Regions from separate parts of the Homo sapiens genome. Here region 1 is linked to region 2. The links are contacts of gene promoters, found by promoter capture Hi-C in blood cells and fetal thymus (Javierre and others, 2016). All regions are on one chromosome and are shown on one strand. The core of a region is centred on a gene start or on the middle of the fragment in contact, and the rest is flanking DNA. Distances in the headings are between cores, read along the strand shown.

What was found. The method cuts DNA at HindIII sites, captures the fragments that hold promoters and counts their contacts. A CHiCAGO score of 5 or more calls a contact.
Region 1: a contact is called between a fragment that was not itself captured here and the fragment with the promoter of VASP in region 2, in 12 of 17 cell types (naive CD4 T cells, total CD8 T cells, naive CD8 T cells and 9 more). The highest score is 15.7, in naive CD4 T cells.

What each region holds. Positions count from the first base shown.
Region 1 is chr19:45,685,953-45,689,126 of GRCh38, forward strand. SNRPD2 (small nuclear ribonucleoprotein D2 polypeptide) reads right to left here. Exons shown (of 3, transcript NM_001384647.1): 2 at 2,435-2,614; 3 at 1,508-1,775. The coding sequence ends at 1,601. Among named protein-coding and RNA genes, the nearest start is that of SNRPD2, 4.4 kb to the right of the region's middle. The HindIII fragment of the contact is 8,456 bases long and covers 1-3,174 here.
Region 2 is chr19:45,505,936-45,509,115 of GRCh38, forward strand. VASP (vasodilator stimulated phosphoprotein) reads left to right here and starts at 1,544. Exons shown (of 13, transcript NM_003370.4): 1 at 1,544-1,841. The coding sequence starts at 1,837. It overlaps LOC107985314 (a long non-coding RNA gene), which reads right to left and starts at 1,439. Exons shown (of 2, transcript XR_007067269.1): 1 at 750-1,439. RefSeq lists silencers at 605-854, 885-1,014, 1,695-1,874, 2,469-2,668 and enhancers at 1,209-1,993, 1,275-1,544. The HindIII fragment of the contact is 2,487 bases long and covers 309-2,795 here.

The DNA of each region.
Region 1 (3,174 bases), core at 644-3,143, 180 kb after region 2:
TCTTCTGGAAAAGGGGGATAATAAATTAACAGGCCCGCGCCAGAGCTGTTGGGAGGATGTTTGAAAAGCGCTGAGCCTGGCCTGGCACCTAAACAGCTCAGCAAGTGTTAGCCAGGATCACTAGCAGTAATATTTAGCTACTGACTGCTTTCTTTTCTTTTCTTTCTTCCTTTCTTTCCTTTTTTTTGAGAGGTAGTCTTAGAATCTGTTGCCCAGGCTGGAGTGCAGTGGCGCGATCTCAGCTCAGTGCAACATCCGTCTCTTGGTTCAAGCTATTCTCCTGCTTCAGCCTCCCAGGTAGCTGGGACCGCAGGCGTGCACCACCATGCCTGGCTAATTTTGTATTTTTAGTAGAGACAGGGTTTCACCACGTTGGCCAGGCTGGTCTCAAACTCCTGAGCTCAGGTGATCCACCCGCCTGGCCTCCCAAAGTGCTGGGATTACAGGTGTGAGCCACTGCACCCGGCCCTTTTTTCTGTTTCTTATCTATTTAGTTTAGAGATAGTATCACACTGTCTATAAAACTCACAACCATTCTCCCAGGCTAGTCCTAAACTTCTGGGCTTAAGCAATGCTCTCACCTCAGCCGCTGTGCTGGTGGCACTGACTGCGTTCATCACCTGTCTAATCCTCCTGTCTTTCAGGGCAGACCAGAGGCTCCTGGGTACCTGGTGCCCCTGCACTGCAACACAGGGCTGGACACACAGGGGGCATTTGGGGGATGTTTGCTGAAGGAACAAACATAAAGAAAGGCTGAAAGATACACATATATAATTTTTGAGATGGAGTCTCACTCTGTCACCCAGGCTACAGTACAGTGGGGCCATCTCAGCTCACTGCAACCTCCATCTCCGGGGTTCAAGCAATTCTCCTGCCCCAGCCTCCTGAGTAGCTGGGATTACAGGTGCCTGCCACCATGCCCTGTTAATTTTTGTATTTTTAGTAGAGACGGGGTTTCACCATGTTGGCCAGGCTGATCTCAAACTCCTGACCTCAGGTGATCCACCCGCCTTGGCCTCCCAAAGTGTTGGGATTACAGGTGTGAGACACCACGCCCGGCCAGTTTTTGTATTTTTAGTAGAGACAGCGTTTTACCATGTTGGCCAGGCTGGTCTCGAATTCCTGACCTCAGGTGATCTGCCCGCCTCCACCTCCCAAAGTACTGGGATTACAGGTGTGAGCCACCATGCCTGGCCCCAAAAGATACTTTGGTCAAGCGAGGCCAATTCATTATAAGAGGTAGAGAAGAGAGCAACAGAGTGACAAGGAGAAGCTCAGGAAGATTAAAGCAGGAGAGCTAAAATGTTCTCCAGAGCCACAACTGGGCGCTCATTTCCATGCAAACTGTTTGCTTTGCAGATGGAGAAAGTGAGGCCTCGATGGGGCAGAGCCAGGGCCTCTCCACTTGCTCAGGGGTCCTGCTCCCACCATTCAGTCCGATACCAGCTGCCTCCCCCAAGCCCTCCTGAATCCACCCCACTCCCAAGGCTCTGGAAACAGATACCACTAGAAAAAAACACAGAGCTTTATTATTCTCAACACCAATGGCAGCGGTCTTCATAGGACAGAGGAGTGAGTTCTGTCAACAGACAGGCGGCCCCTACTTGCCGGCGATGAGCGGGTTCCGCAGGACCACGATGACTGAGTCCCCGCGCAGGAACATCTTGGAGATGTAGCGGTCTTTGTTGACTGGCTTGGACTTCTTCTTGCCCTTGCCACTCTTGGGTACCTCAGTCCACATCTCCTTCACGTTCTCCAGCACCATGTTGCAGTGCCTGGTGGGGAACAGGGAGGGGAGGCACTGGGCGTGAGGGGCGTGCCTCTGACAGTGCCCCCTACTGCCTGCTGCTCGCCCCCTCCAGCAGCATGGCTTGGGGAAGGGTGCAGGTGCTAGGCCGGGATGACCAAGCTGCCAAAGCAACTCTGCCAGTCCTTAGGTTGAGGCTGAGGCAAAGGACTGCACCTCTCTGTGCCAGTTTGCTCCTTTTTAAGAGGGAAGATAATCACGTTACCTTCCTCACAGGGCCATTGAAAATTATCATTTTCTTTTTTGAGACAGAATCTCACTCTGTTGCCCAGGCTGCAATGCAGTGGTGCGATTTCAGCTCACCACAACCTCCGCCTCCTGGGTTCAGGCTATTCTTGTGCCTCGGCCACCTGAGTAGCTGTGAATACAGGCGTGCACCACCACGCCTGGCTTTTATATTTTTAGTAGAGATGGGGTTTCGCCATTTTAGCTAAGCTGGTCTTGAACTCCTGACCTCAGGTGATCTACCCGCCTTGCCTTCCCAAAGTGCTGGGATTACAGGCATGAGCCACCACGCCTGGCCATACACCCCAGGCTTCTGAGACAGCTGTCTTTGAGCTCTTCAGACTGGAGCTGGAGTGGCCTCTCCAGGCCTGCGGAGAACACCTCCCAGGACCCAGCACTCACCTATCGAAGGCCTTCACGCGGCCCAGGAGTTTCTTATTGTTGCGGCAGTTGATGAGCACTTGGGTATTGTTCTTGACTGACTGTGTGAGCACAGAGAGTGGACCGGTGTTAAATTCCTCCTCCTCTCGCTTCTGCAGCTCCTCTGGGGTCATCTCACTCTTGGGCTTGTTGAGGAGGCTCCTGCATGGACAAACATGGAACCAATAAGTGAGAGAGGCTGGAGTTGAGAGGCTGGAGCTGTGAGGATGGGTGATCAGGGCCTTGGCTTCAGTGTCTCCCCAACCTTGTCCCACCACATCTGTCCTCCTGTTCAGCCTTCTGAGTATCATCAGCTAGATGCCTAACAGACATTTTTTTTTTTTTTGAGACGGAGTCTTGATCTGTTGCCCAGGCTGGAGCGCAGTGATGTGATCTCGGCTCACTGCAACCTCTGCCTCCTGGGTTCAAGCGATTCTCCTGCCTCAGCCTCCTGAGGAGCTGGGACTACAGGCATGCACCACCTCCACGCCCAGCTAATTTTTGTATTTTAGTAAACAGGGGGTTTCACCATGTTGGCCAGGATGGTCTTGATTTCTTGACCTTGTGATCCACCCGCCTCGACCTCCCAAAGTGCTGAGATTATAGGCGTGAGCCACCGTGCCCAGCCAGACATTTTCAACTCTGCATGTCTCAGGTCGGGATCCAGATCACCCAACCACCCAAGCCTACCCTATCTACAGCGTTCCCCATCTGCTTTGATG
Region 2 (3,180 bases), core at 294-2,793:
AAAAATTAGTTGGGCTTGGTGGCCCGTGCCTGTAATCCCAGCTACTTTAGGAGGGTGAGGCAGGAGAATTGCTTGAACCCAGGAGGGGGAGGTTGCAGTAAGCGGGGATCGAGCCAGCGCCCTCCAGCCTGGGTGACAGCGAGAGACTACATCTCAAAAAAAAAAAAAGAAAAAAAGAAATTTAGTCTACCCATTCTCCCAGACAACTCAGCCTGAGGAAACACACTGAGAAACAATGATAACCTCCGAGGAACAGGGTTCAAGGTCTCCCAGAGTGGGGTGGAGAAGGGGAGGGGAATTAATGTCAAAGCTTGGCCTGGAAGGATGACGTGCTCCCCAGGTAAAGGAGGTCAGGACAACATCAACATCCGGACATGGGACTCGGCTTGGACATACGCTGGAAAAGTGGATTCTCTCACATAGTCAGCTGGCCCTGAGAATTGTTGGTTTTACACTCAGACCTTGGTGGCTTTCCGGGTTCTGGGGGCTCAGGCAAGAGGGCCATAGGCCAGATTCATTCCCTGTCTCCAGGCCTCAGTTTACCCGTGTGTAAATGTGGAACTAACTGATTTCCCAGGGCTCGGGCGCCTCACCCGGGCCAGGTGGCGCTCTACCCAAGGGGCGCGACCAAATCAGTGACGTCACTCGGGGCGGGGCCGGCAAGACACGCTGCGGAAGCCTCAGAGGGTGTCTGGGCTCAGCCCGGAGCCGGCGTGTGGGGGCGGGGGCTCCCGGGAGGGTCTCCTCACCTCCGGGCCCTCCTGAGGGCTGGGATGATCCTGCTGTCCTCCGCAGGCGAAACTGAGTCAGAGCGGGGCGTGCGTGGGCCGGAGGCTTTACACACCAAAGAAGCCGGCGCCTCCTGCCCACCCCGGGCGAATGCCGGGCCCCCCACTCCCGCACTCCTCGCCAGTCCCCACCTCCACCCCACCCCACCCCCGACCCTGCGGCTGTGAGTCAGCGACCGACCGCGCCCCCTTGGCCCACTTCCTCCTCACCTTCCCGGGGCGGGCGGGGTGGGGTGAGAGGGGTTGGGCCCTACTCCCCCGACTTCCACTCCCGTGCGGGTGGGGGTCTCGCCCCCTTAGTAACCTCTCCGAAATTGACAGAAGAGAAACGCTGGGGAGGGGCGGTGTTCCGAAGATGGGATTTCAGGGAGAAAATCTGAGACCACTTGCTTAACTTGAGGGTCCTCCTCGACCCCCAAAATTGAGCGGAGTACGAGATGGAGAAGTCGATGGGGAAAGAAATCGCGCCCCTTCCGAGACCCTCCTCAGAATTCCCACAGTGGGAGCGAACTAGGAAGCAAGGGAGGTCCCCTTCCCCTTCACCAACTTGCCCCTCAGGTGGGGGTGATTCCCAGGGTGCACCCCTGGGCTACAACATTGGGGAGAGGAGCGAGATCGCGGAAGCCGAGGGTGCAGAGTTGCCCTTTTAAGCGCCCTCCACCCCCTCGCCTGGAGGCGCACGCGGCCCCTTTAAGGCGCGGGGCATTGTGGGTGCGGGGAGTGGAATTTTGGAACGAAATGTAACGAAGAGAAGTACAGTAGTAAGAGTAACACTGTAGCCGCCACCGGCAAGGGGTGCGCGCTGGGGAGCGGACGCTGCATCCCCTTTCTGCTGCAGGAACCTCTCATCAGACCGCCTGAGGGAAGCGGCGCCCGGAGACCCGCCCCGGCCCGGTCCACATTCTCCCCAGGAAGCCGGACTCTATGGGGCGGGACCCTGGGGGAGCCTGAGCCGAGCCCGGAGCCAGCCCCGAACCCCTGAACCTCCAGCCAGGGGCGCCCCGGGAGCAGCCAGCCCGTGGGCGAGCCGCCCGCCCGCCGAGCAGCCATGAGGTGAGCCGGACCTGCCCCCCGACCCGTCCCCGCCCGGGCGGGCTCCGCGCCCCGCCTTTGTCCCCCTCCCCCCCAGCTAGCTCCGGGCTGGAATTTGGGGACAGATCCTTGGGAGCCTCGGATTTGAGCTGAATCCCCTTGGACGCGCCCCAGAACCGTCGATCACTTCTCCACGACTGACTCCCCAAGCTCGGGGGGTGGTGGCGGTGAGGTTCTCCTGGGAGCCCTCAAGATTTGGGGGCGCTCGGAGGACTCCCGAATTGTTAAGACTTTTTTTAGAGGACCTCAAAGTTGGCAGCGACTCCCCGCAGGGATGCCAGGATTGAGGCAGGGCTCAGACTCTCCTCCCCCTCCCCCCAGACTTCAGCTCGAGGTCCGGGAAGGATTGTGGGGGACCGATTTGGGATACCCTGGGACTTGGAAGAGAGACTGAGACTCAGACCCTGGGTGTGCAGGTCCCCCGTTTACTTGGTGCTGGAAAAAGTCTCCCCAAGTGGGACCGCGCTCCATAACTTCGGGGGTACTTCTTAATCCCCTGGATTTTGGGGGTCACTTAGGTCTTCCTGTGGAGGAGGCTGGTGTGAACCGATCCAGGGACCTGGACGCAGCCTCCAGAGTCTGGTGGGACCCCCCCCTTCCCCGTCGCTCCGCACACAATCTGCTTAACTGGCCGTGCCTAGGACCGAGCGGGCGCTCGGAGCAGAGGGCGGCTCCCCGCCTCCGGCCATAAGGGCGGCCCGGCTCCCCCACCTGCGCGGCCCTGGAGAGGGAGGGGGCGCGGCAGCTGGGGGAAGGGGGCCTTTGTCTTCCTGACTCACCTGTCGAGACAGCTGGTGTGGGGGGCGGGCACCAAGCGCTGTAGGCCGGCTGCCTTCCCCACCACGGCCCCTCCCCCTTTGCTCACCGTCCCCCTATCCACCCGGAGCCTTGGGGTTGGAGGAGGGGGAGCTGGAAAGCTTCAAGGTCATAGCCCTCTTCCCTAGGGACCCAGGCTTCCCAGATAATTCCAGCTATCTTCCCAGGAATTTAATCCTGGGGGTGGCGGCCCAAGGGACCCAGGGATTTGGTCTGGCCGGGGCCTCCCCCGAACTCCTGGGCTCACCTGAGGGCGGGGCCAGTGTGGGCAGGGGGGCCCAACCATCCCCCCTATTCTTCCCTCCCCTGGCCCCCCATAATCTCTCCCATGGGGCCAGAGCCTGACAATACTATCTCCCTTCCTCTACTCTCTCTGGGACTTCCTGCCCCAAAGCCCCCAGCCTGAGCAGGGAGGCCCCTGGGGACGGTTGGGGATTAACCCCGTGGTGCCCACATCCCCCGCATTTCCTGAACCCCTGCCCTT